2 separate regions of the Homo sapiens genome follow, and region 1 is linked to region 2. Evidence: promoter capture Hi-C in human tissues and cell types (Jung and others, 2019). All regions are on one chromosome and are shown on one strand. Each heading gives the region's core, a stretch centred on a gene start or on the middle of the fragment in contact. The rest is flanking DNA. Distances are from core to core; before and after follow the strand shown. Region 1 has its middle 31 kb from the start of SENP8. Region 2 holds the start of CT62 (cancer/testis associated 62).

Region 1 (4,353 bases), core at 488-2,987, 1.0 Mb after region 2:
TGACTAATTTGCTTTCCTTGTTAATTCCTCAGAATCATGAATCCTTTCAGTGTGCCCAAATCACATATGATTTTTGGTGTTGTGTCCTTCCTTCCCACTAAATCACAAGAGCCATGGAGGCCGGGAACCATGTCTGACTCGTTCACTATTGAATCCATGCAGTTTCATACAGTGCCTGGCACATAAACATTGTTATTTGTTGAATGGATAAATGAGAACATAGAAGCTGTTTATCAAAGAAAAAACAGCCCATCATCCTCCCTGGCATAGCAGCAGAAGTCAAAATGCAACATTAATCAGTAGAACTATTCATGCTTGCTTAAGACCAAGCTCAGAGGTTGATGAACTTAAGCAACCTAACAGAAAATAGGGAACTCCCTAAACTTGTACATCTAACTGTGGACATCTCTTCAGTTTATCTGCTGACTTCTTAGAGATTTTCACATTTTACATCGTTGTAATCCATGTCTAAGCACTATCTTAATTCTGCTTTTTACAAATTTCCACCTTAATCACTGTTTACTTGTGCTTAAAGGTAACATTGGGTTACATTATATTTATAGATTGTGATTTTCTTAGCCAATTCCCCACTGCCGGGCTTTTTGGTTAGTTCTGATTTGAGATTGTTATGAATAGCAGTGCTACAAACATTCTTCATAAGTAACTTATTTCACATGTTCTCCTTGAATACAAAGTGGGATTAAGATTTCAAAACATATGAACAGTTTATATCCTATCATGTAGACAGCCAGAGATTTGTCTAAAAAGAAAGAATCAATATATAGTACCATTAAAATTCTATGATACAAACCTATCTCTAGTTCTGTATAGCCCTACCAACACTGAGGGTGGGTTGTTTTGTTTTTTTAGAGATAGGGTCTTGCTGTGTCACCCAGGCTGGAGTACAGTGGTAAAATCATAGCTCACTGCAGCCTCGAACTCCTGGGCTCAAGCAGTCCTCTCCTGCCTCAGCCTCCCAAGTAGCATGGACTACAGGGACACACCACCACACCCGGCTAACTTTTTTTTTTTGAGACAGGGTCTTGCTGTGTTGCCCAGGCTGGTCTTGAGCTCCTGGCTCAAGTGATCCTCCTGCTTCCCAGAGTGCTGGGATTATAGGTATGAGCCACCACACCTGGCCAACATTAGGTTTTGCATTTGCTACATTTATTTCTTGGAACTTAACAGAAAACTAATATCTGTTGAGCTATTTCTGTGTGTCAGAAACTTCAAGGATTTGACATGACGTTTCCCATTTAACAAATTACCATAAACCTGTAAGTACTATTAGTATCCCCCTTTTAGAGATGAGGAAACTAAGGCTTAGAGTTGTCCAAGTAAATTGGAAGAGTTTAAATGTAGATGTACTGATTCCAGAACCTGTATTCTTAACTACTATGCTGTACTCTCTCTCCTGGTTGTCAGTGACAGTGTTTTTTCTGTTATATTTAACAGACAGGAAAAATTATTAATAAAATCTGTAACCTTTCTGATTTCCAAGAATGTGGTATAATTTATTGCTAGTGAGCTTGTTTCATTGAGGTAAACATCCAGATGGAGCTTTTTGGTTAAGAAAGGTCAACTCCCAGGGTTTAACACGTGTAGGCCAGGACAATACAAGAGAGATCAGTTACTCCAAATAATAAAATCAAATAAATTTGGATTTTCACTGGATGCCCTAGAGAAAGAGAATGAGGCCTAGGAAAGAAAGAAGTAGGGAAAGGTTAACGAAGAGAACTGAGATGAGAAGCATTCCAGAAACATGGCAGGAGACAGGGGCCTACTGGAAGACATGGCCATGGAGAAGCTCCCTACTGTAGTAGAGAATGGCTGCTAAATTTCTTTAAGCAATCATCTATGTATTGAGTTTGAAGTTTTCTGCTTTGTGATATAGCCTTCCATTAACTAAACCTTTCATGCAATTTGGATATACTCAACCATTTTGGTGGTGGATCATTTGGAGGAATGAAGGATGAGGAGTGGCACATGATGAGGCAAAAAGGAAATAGCCAAAGGAACAGGGGACGGGACAAGCAGGCTGCATCCCATCTGCAGGAGACACAGAAGCAACCTTAAAAACCCTTGGAGAAACTGAGGTCTCAGGACTTCCCACAGTGGTTAGAAATGGGTCTCAGGCCATTTCAAATTGAAAGAATGACCCCTAAACACTAAATTATTTGGGGTTGTCCAAGTTTGGAAATTTCTGGGTTACACTGAAGTGAGAAAGAGCTTGAACCACAGTAAAATAAATTTGATGTATTAGCAGCATTTGTCATAGCCTTTGCCTTGATGTATCATGAAATAATTAGCTTCGGCTGGGCGCCGTGGCTTACGCCTGTAATCCCAGCACTTTGAGAGGCCGAGGCGGGCAGATCACGAGGTCAGGAGATTGAGACCATCCTGGCTAACACGGTGAAACCCTGTCTCTACTAAAAATACAAAAAAAAATTAGCCGGGCGTGGTGGTGGGCTCCTGTAGTCCCAGCTTCTGGGGAGGCTGAGGCAGGAGAATGGCATGAACCTGGGAGGCGGAGCTTGCAGTGAGCCAAGATCGCACCACTGCACTCCAGCCTGGGCAACAGAGTGAGACTCCATCTCAAAAAAATAAATAAATAAAATAAAGAAATAATTAGCTTCCAGGACACCAGACTCTTCTGGTTTTCCTCCTTCCTCATCAGGCATCCTTAGTTTCCTTTTCCTAGTTCTTCCTTTTCTTCCTGATCTTTTATTAACAGTGTGTGACAGGGTTCACTCGTCCACTCTTTCTTCTGTCTACAGACTCAGTCCCTTGATGATCTCATCCAGCAGCATGCTTTTAAATACCATCCATATGTTGACAGCTCCCAGATTTATTTTTTTATTTTATTTTATTTATTTATTTTTATTTTATTTATTTATTTATTTATTTTTGAGACGGAGTCTTACTCTGTCACCAGGCTGGAGTGCAGTGGCATGATCTCAGCTCACTGCAACCACTGCCTCATGGGTTCGAGTGATTCTCCTGCCTCAGCCTCCCAAGTAGCTGAGACTACAGTCGCATGCCACCACGCCCAGCTAATTTTTGTATTTTTAGTAGACACGGGGTTTCACCATGTTGGCCAGGATGGCCTTGATCTCTTGACCTCATGATCTGCCTGCCTCGGCCTCCCAAAGTGCTGGGATTACAGGTGTGCGCCACCATGCCCAGCCAACAGCTCCCAGTTTTGTTTTGTTTTTTTTGAAATGGAGTCTTGCTCTGTTGCCCAGGCTAGAGTGCAATGGTGCAGTCTAGGCTCACTGCAACCTCCACCTCTCGGGTTCAAGCGATTCTCCTGCCTCAGCCTCCCAAGTAGCTGGGACTGCAGGCATGTGCCACCATGCCCAGCTAATTTTTTGTATTTTTAGTAGAGATGGGTTTTCACCATGTTAGCCAGGATGGTCTCGATCTCCTGACCTCATGATCTGCCCGCCTCGGCCTCCCAAAGTGCTGGGATTACAGGCATGAGCCACCATGTCCAGCCAACAGCTCCCAAATTTATATCTCCCAGACTTCAGACATCTCTCCTGAACCCCAGACTCATATACCCTATTGCCCACTTGACATCCCCACCACTTGGATGTCCAAAATTCATCTCAGACTGAATATGTCCAGTACTACATTTCTGATTCTCCTTCCAAAAGCTTTACCACTCATGGCTTTCTCCACCTCCATTCTTTCAAGCCAAAAAACATGAAGTCATCCTTATGACTCCTTTTCTGTTATACCCCATATCCAATTTAACAGGCAGTCCTGTCGTTTGTACGTTCAGAATATATCCAGAATCTGCATGTTTCCACCATCTCTACTACTGCCCTAGTCATCAGAGTCATTGTCCTCCCTAACTTGTAAGGGAGGCTGTCTCCTAACTGATCTCCCTGCTTCCACCTTTCCCTCCCTAGCAGTCAAGTTTGATTCTTTTGAAATCTGAATAACAAAAGATTATTATTCACTTATCTACTCATTTCATTGGGAGTCAAAGCCAAAGTTCTTATAATGGTCTTAGATGATTTCCCAGCCCTCCCCCTTTGACTTCATCTAGTTCTGCCCCTTCTTCTTCTCTCTCTTCCAGCTACACCTGCATCCTTGCTGTTCCTGAACAAGCCAGCCAGGCACCCTCCCTTCCACTTTAGACTTGTTGCATTGGCTATTCACTCTACCTGGAATGTTCCACAAACCTTATTCTCTCATTTCTTTTTTTTTAAGACAGAGTCTCACTCTGTCGCCCAGACTGGAGTGCAGTGATGCAATCTCCACTCACCGCAAACTCTACCTCCCAGGCTCAAGCAATTCTCCTGCCTCATTCTCCCAAGTAGCTGGGATTACAGGAGTGTGCCA
Region 2 (4,134 bases), core at 553-3,052:
GGAAAGTTTTCTTCCTTTCCTCTTTGAATCCTAGCACCAAGGCCACACTCGGCACTGAATACCTGTCTCGAATGAATGAATAAATCAATCTTGTTTGAACAAATCTTATTAGTTTTGCTTTTTTAAAATTATGGTAAAATGTACATAACATAAAAATTTCCATTTTAACCATTTTTAAGTGTATAATTCAGTGACATTAAGTACATTCTAAAGTTGCGCAGGTTTTTTTTTTTAAATCAGTTCTAAATGGTTTAAACTGGCCAGTATTTACTAGAGCTGTTAGATCGACTTAATTTGGACCCATGAGACTCGTGACACTCAGAATTAATCTAATCCCATTTACACCAGGTGCCTCCCATCAAAATCTGTTTGATCAAGTGTGGAATTATTTCATCCCATTGGAACCAGCTCTTGAATCAATCAGAACTGGCTCTGCCAGGCTCCGGGCCAGTAGTCGGTGCTCAAAATGGTGTTTCTTTCTTTGGCCTAATCTCTTGAGTAGCCTCTTTCCCTTTTGTTAATTTTTTTTTTTTTCTGGAGGACAATCTTCCCTGGGAGCTCCCTTCTGCTCCCACGAAGCGCTCTGCACCCAGCCCTGGTGCTGCCTGGCTCTGGGGCAGGGAGCTTGCATTCTGCCACCTCCTTCATTGTCCTCTCGGTATACCTGCACTTTCAAAACAACCCCTGCAGGCAAGCTTTAGAGGCAGCGATAAACAAACAGGCTGACTGAAATTTAGGGAAACGCCTGTATCTGGACAGCCTCTTCAAATATTTGTCACCCCCTCCCTGCTCTGGGGAAAGAAGAGACAGTTCCTCACAGTCACTCTATTTCCTGCCTTCCCAGCTCTGAACACCTTGGCTCGAATGTAAAGAATTTGGCTCTGAATTAGGACTCAAGAAACGGGGCCCTAGCAATTTTCCCTCCATTAACTAAACGCGTCACTTTGGTCATGCCCTTTTGGGGGCAATAATTTCCCAATTCGTAAAATGAAGGGATCAAAGTTTGATTTTTATCATTACTAATGAGAAGAATTATTATTTTTTTGCAGCAGGCTTTTTTTTCCCCAACAAAATATTACTCTGAATAAGACAAGAAAGAATCCCGAACGGCTCTGGCCGTCAGGGTGTGTGTGTCTCCTCCCCATGCTGTCTAACCCCCGTTGGAATTTGGAGGGCTCTTGTCCTTTCCCCTTGGCCTCAGAAGGAGCCCAGCGCGTCCTACCTTGCGTGGGAGTGTGTGTGTGACCAGGGCTCCTTCCTGCCCTTAGAGTCACCGCCCCCTTCTCGCACAGGTTTACAGCACCACTTGCCTCGCCCACTCCCCGCTTTGCCTCCGCCCCATCCTGATGCTGCCGGAATGGCTGTTCCAAATGGAAGGATGCCCGCGTCCGTCCCCTGCCCCAGTCCTTCAACAGGTCCCCACAGACCTCAGGATAAGATGAACGCGGAATTCAGGGCCTGGTCTCAACCGCCCTCTCCCTTTTCCTCTCACTTAGACGACCCTGGCCAGCTGGGCCACTCTCCACTCTCGCCCCCTCCCGCCCTCGTGGCCTCTGTCTAGACCGTACTCCCTCCTACTGGGTGATGTCTCTTCCCCTGGGACCCAGGGACCATCCCGTTGTTGACCTCCGGGGTCAGGGGTGCGGATGGGGGCCGGCCCTTCCCGCGGTCGCCGCCAGGGGGCGGCAGGAGCGGCTCCAGATGACAGCGGGAGGCCGCAAGAGGGGAGGGAGGAAGGACCGAGGGAGCGCGGATCCCGCTCTCGGATCGCAAACTCTGAGCCAGAGCTCTCCGCGCGCGCCTGAACCGCTGGCCGCCCGCGCAGCCCGACGCGGAATCGGGGCACAGCGGGAGCCCGTGCAGGGCGGGCGCGGGGCGGCTGGGCGGCGGTGGCGGCCGTCCATGCGGCGGCGCTCGGGGCTGCCCGGCGCCGGGAACCACGCGGGGGCGAGGCGAGGCGAGGCGGCCGCCGGTCGCTCCGGGACGCGGACCGCCAGGTGAGCAGAGCCGCGCGCCCCGCGTCCCCTGCGCGCCGCCCGCGCGGCCCCGACCCGGCTTCCGCTGCCCAGGCTCCGGCTCCCGCTCTCTGGCCGGCGGGGCGGGCTGGCGCGGGCTACCCAGTGGGTGTGTCCGGGGCGCCGCGGGCTGCGCCGCTCCGGGCTCGGGGAGCCAGCGCGCGCCTGGTCCGTGCGGACGGCTGCGCCTCCTTCTCTGGTTCTCTTCCTTGCTGGGAGTCTTGCTCTGTGCTGGCGCCGGCGCTCATCCCTCCACCCTCGACTCTAGGGACAGTCTTAAACTCTAGGGACAATCCACCTCAGTCGTCCCCGGGTCGGGGCCCCGTGCTCCCCGGGTCGGGTCGGAGGGGACCGGCGAGTGCACACCCAGCCCGTGCGCCCCCCACCTCAGCCTCGCCTCCCTCCCGCCTGGGGCCCGAGAGCCGGGCAAGTCTCGGTCAGCGCTCCTTGAGTCCTGGCCTGGGGCCTCGGATCTGTGTGTCTGTCTGTCTCAGTTTAGTTGCTGCAACCCAGCGAGCGCCTGGAGCCCGAGTGGATGGGTTGTTTCCGCCAACTCTGGACACTTCCTCAAGTGCAGCCTAAGTACCTGCGGCCCCTTGGCGCACTTACAGAAGTAGCTTTTGCACAGCGAGCTCACCTTGGAGCTCTACAGATCTGGAAGTTAAGTTTTCTTTTTATTTGAAATAACATCAGCCCTCACTTGGGAAGGGGATTTTAGGGCGTTCTCGGGCCCACCTAAGTATCTGGAATTTGTGGTCTAGTAAGTTTTTTAAGCAGTCCGCACCCAGCACCGTACCTCCCAGCCTCCTTTGCCGTCTTACTAAAAGTGCATGCTTGCTTCTCTTCCTGTCTCCTTTGCGATCTCTACCACGCTGCGCTTCGCCCTTTTCGGGCTATGAGTCTAAAGCTTGGACGTGGGTAGCAATCATTGGATGCCTGTTGGAATTTGGAATTAGAGAAATAGATACCCGAGAGAGATCTAAGGAATCGCCTTGTCCAACCCTCCTTTCACAGTTGGAGGCACCCAGGACCCCTGACAGTCTGAAGATTTTTCAAGGATCACACAGCTTTTAAAATCCGCGTGTCTTCTACTTGATTAATATTGTTGGAGGTGATGGAGTAACTGGGCTTACTAGGGTCTTACTGGGTCTCAATATACAAAGAAGCAAACATTTTAAAAATGTGACTTAAAATACGGAACTCTTCAATTCCTATAGATTTTTGTTGGCATCATAGTTGAATTCCTTTAGAAAACAAAATCCTAGCCCTGAAATTAATGTGAGGAAGCAAGCAGATGGGCGTCCTGGGACTTTCCTATAAATCTCTGCAGGGCTGGAGCAGGGATTTCCCAGAGGTCTGGGCCTGGGAAATGAGTTTGGGTGATCAGGATACTGGAGCCCCTTCTGAATAAGCAACTGGGTTGGTTTCTTGTGGGGAGGCTGGCCAGTGGAACTCATGTGATCTCCTCTGTGCCCAGCACTGGGCGGGGCACCAGCTTGGCATTACCTTCTTTTTAGTCTCCTATGCCATAAAGAAATATTTCTTACTGGCTGTTAGCGAAAGAAAAATACAGCCCAGAGTTTGGGAGGAAGATCAGGGGTGGGGAGATTTTTGACTTGGAGTTTGTTTTTGTTTTTGCCTCGAAAAACTTGTGGAGATTGCAATCAGTTATCCTACACAGAGGCTGTGTATTGCCGTCTTCTCCATCCCCCACATTTCTCTCCATGGTACCACTTTTATCCTAATTGCTGGGAGTCTCAATGTTTAAATGTTCCCAACACTCCCATTCTGTCCCCCACATTTATAGCTCATTCATCGCAAAATCTCTTCCACATTCTTTTGTGATATCTGAGGAATTATTTACCTGTCTCCATTCCCACTGCCCCCACCTTCAACCATGTCCAAATTACAGTAATAATCTCCCCTCTTGACTCCCAGCCACGAGTTGCTTTCTTCATTTTAATCCATCTTCTTTCATGCTGATAGATTAATATTTCTGAAATTCTGATTTCACCACATCATTTCTCTCAAGAAATCACAATGGCTCCCCAGTATTCACTTCTATTTAATTTATCTCCAACAGATATTTCTGAGCGTCTGCTATGTGCCAGGGACTGTT

What was found. Contacts are between HindIII fragments. The study calls those that stand out against the background at their distance.
Region 1: a fragment that was not itself captured here is called in contact with the fragment with the promoter of CT62 in region 2 in 1 of the 25 tissues and cell types used here (mesenchymal stem cells).

What each region holds. Positions count from the first base shown.
Region 1 is chr15:72,147,281-72,151,633 of GRCh38, forward strand. No RefSeq gene overlaps it. Among named protein-coding and RNA genes, the nearest start is that of SENP8, 31 kb to the left of the region's middle. The HindIII fragment of the contact is 6,726 bases long and covers 1-4,353 here.
Region 2 is chr15:71,113,702-71,117,835 of GRCh38, forward strand. CT62 (cancer/testis associated 62) reads right to left here and starts at 1,803. Exons shown (of 4, transcript NR_168260.1): 1 at 1,223-1,803; 2 at 1-62. THSD4 (thrombospondin type 1 domain containing 4) reads left to right here and starts at 1,770. Exons shown (of 18, transcript NM_024817.3): 1 at 1,770-1,997. RefSeq lists silencers at 1,584-1,633, 1,670-1,847, 1,694-1,753, 1,784-1,923, 2,074-2,163. The HindIII fragment of the contact is 8,632 bases long and covers 1-4,134 here.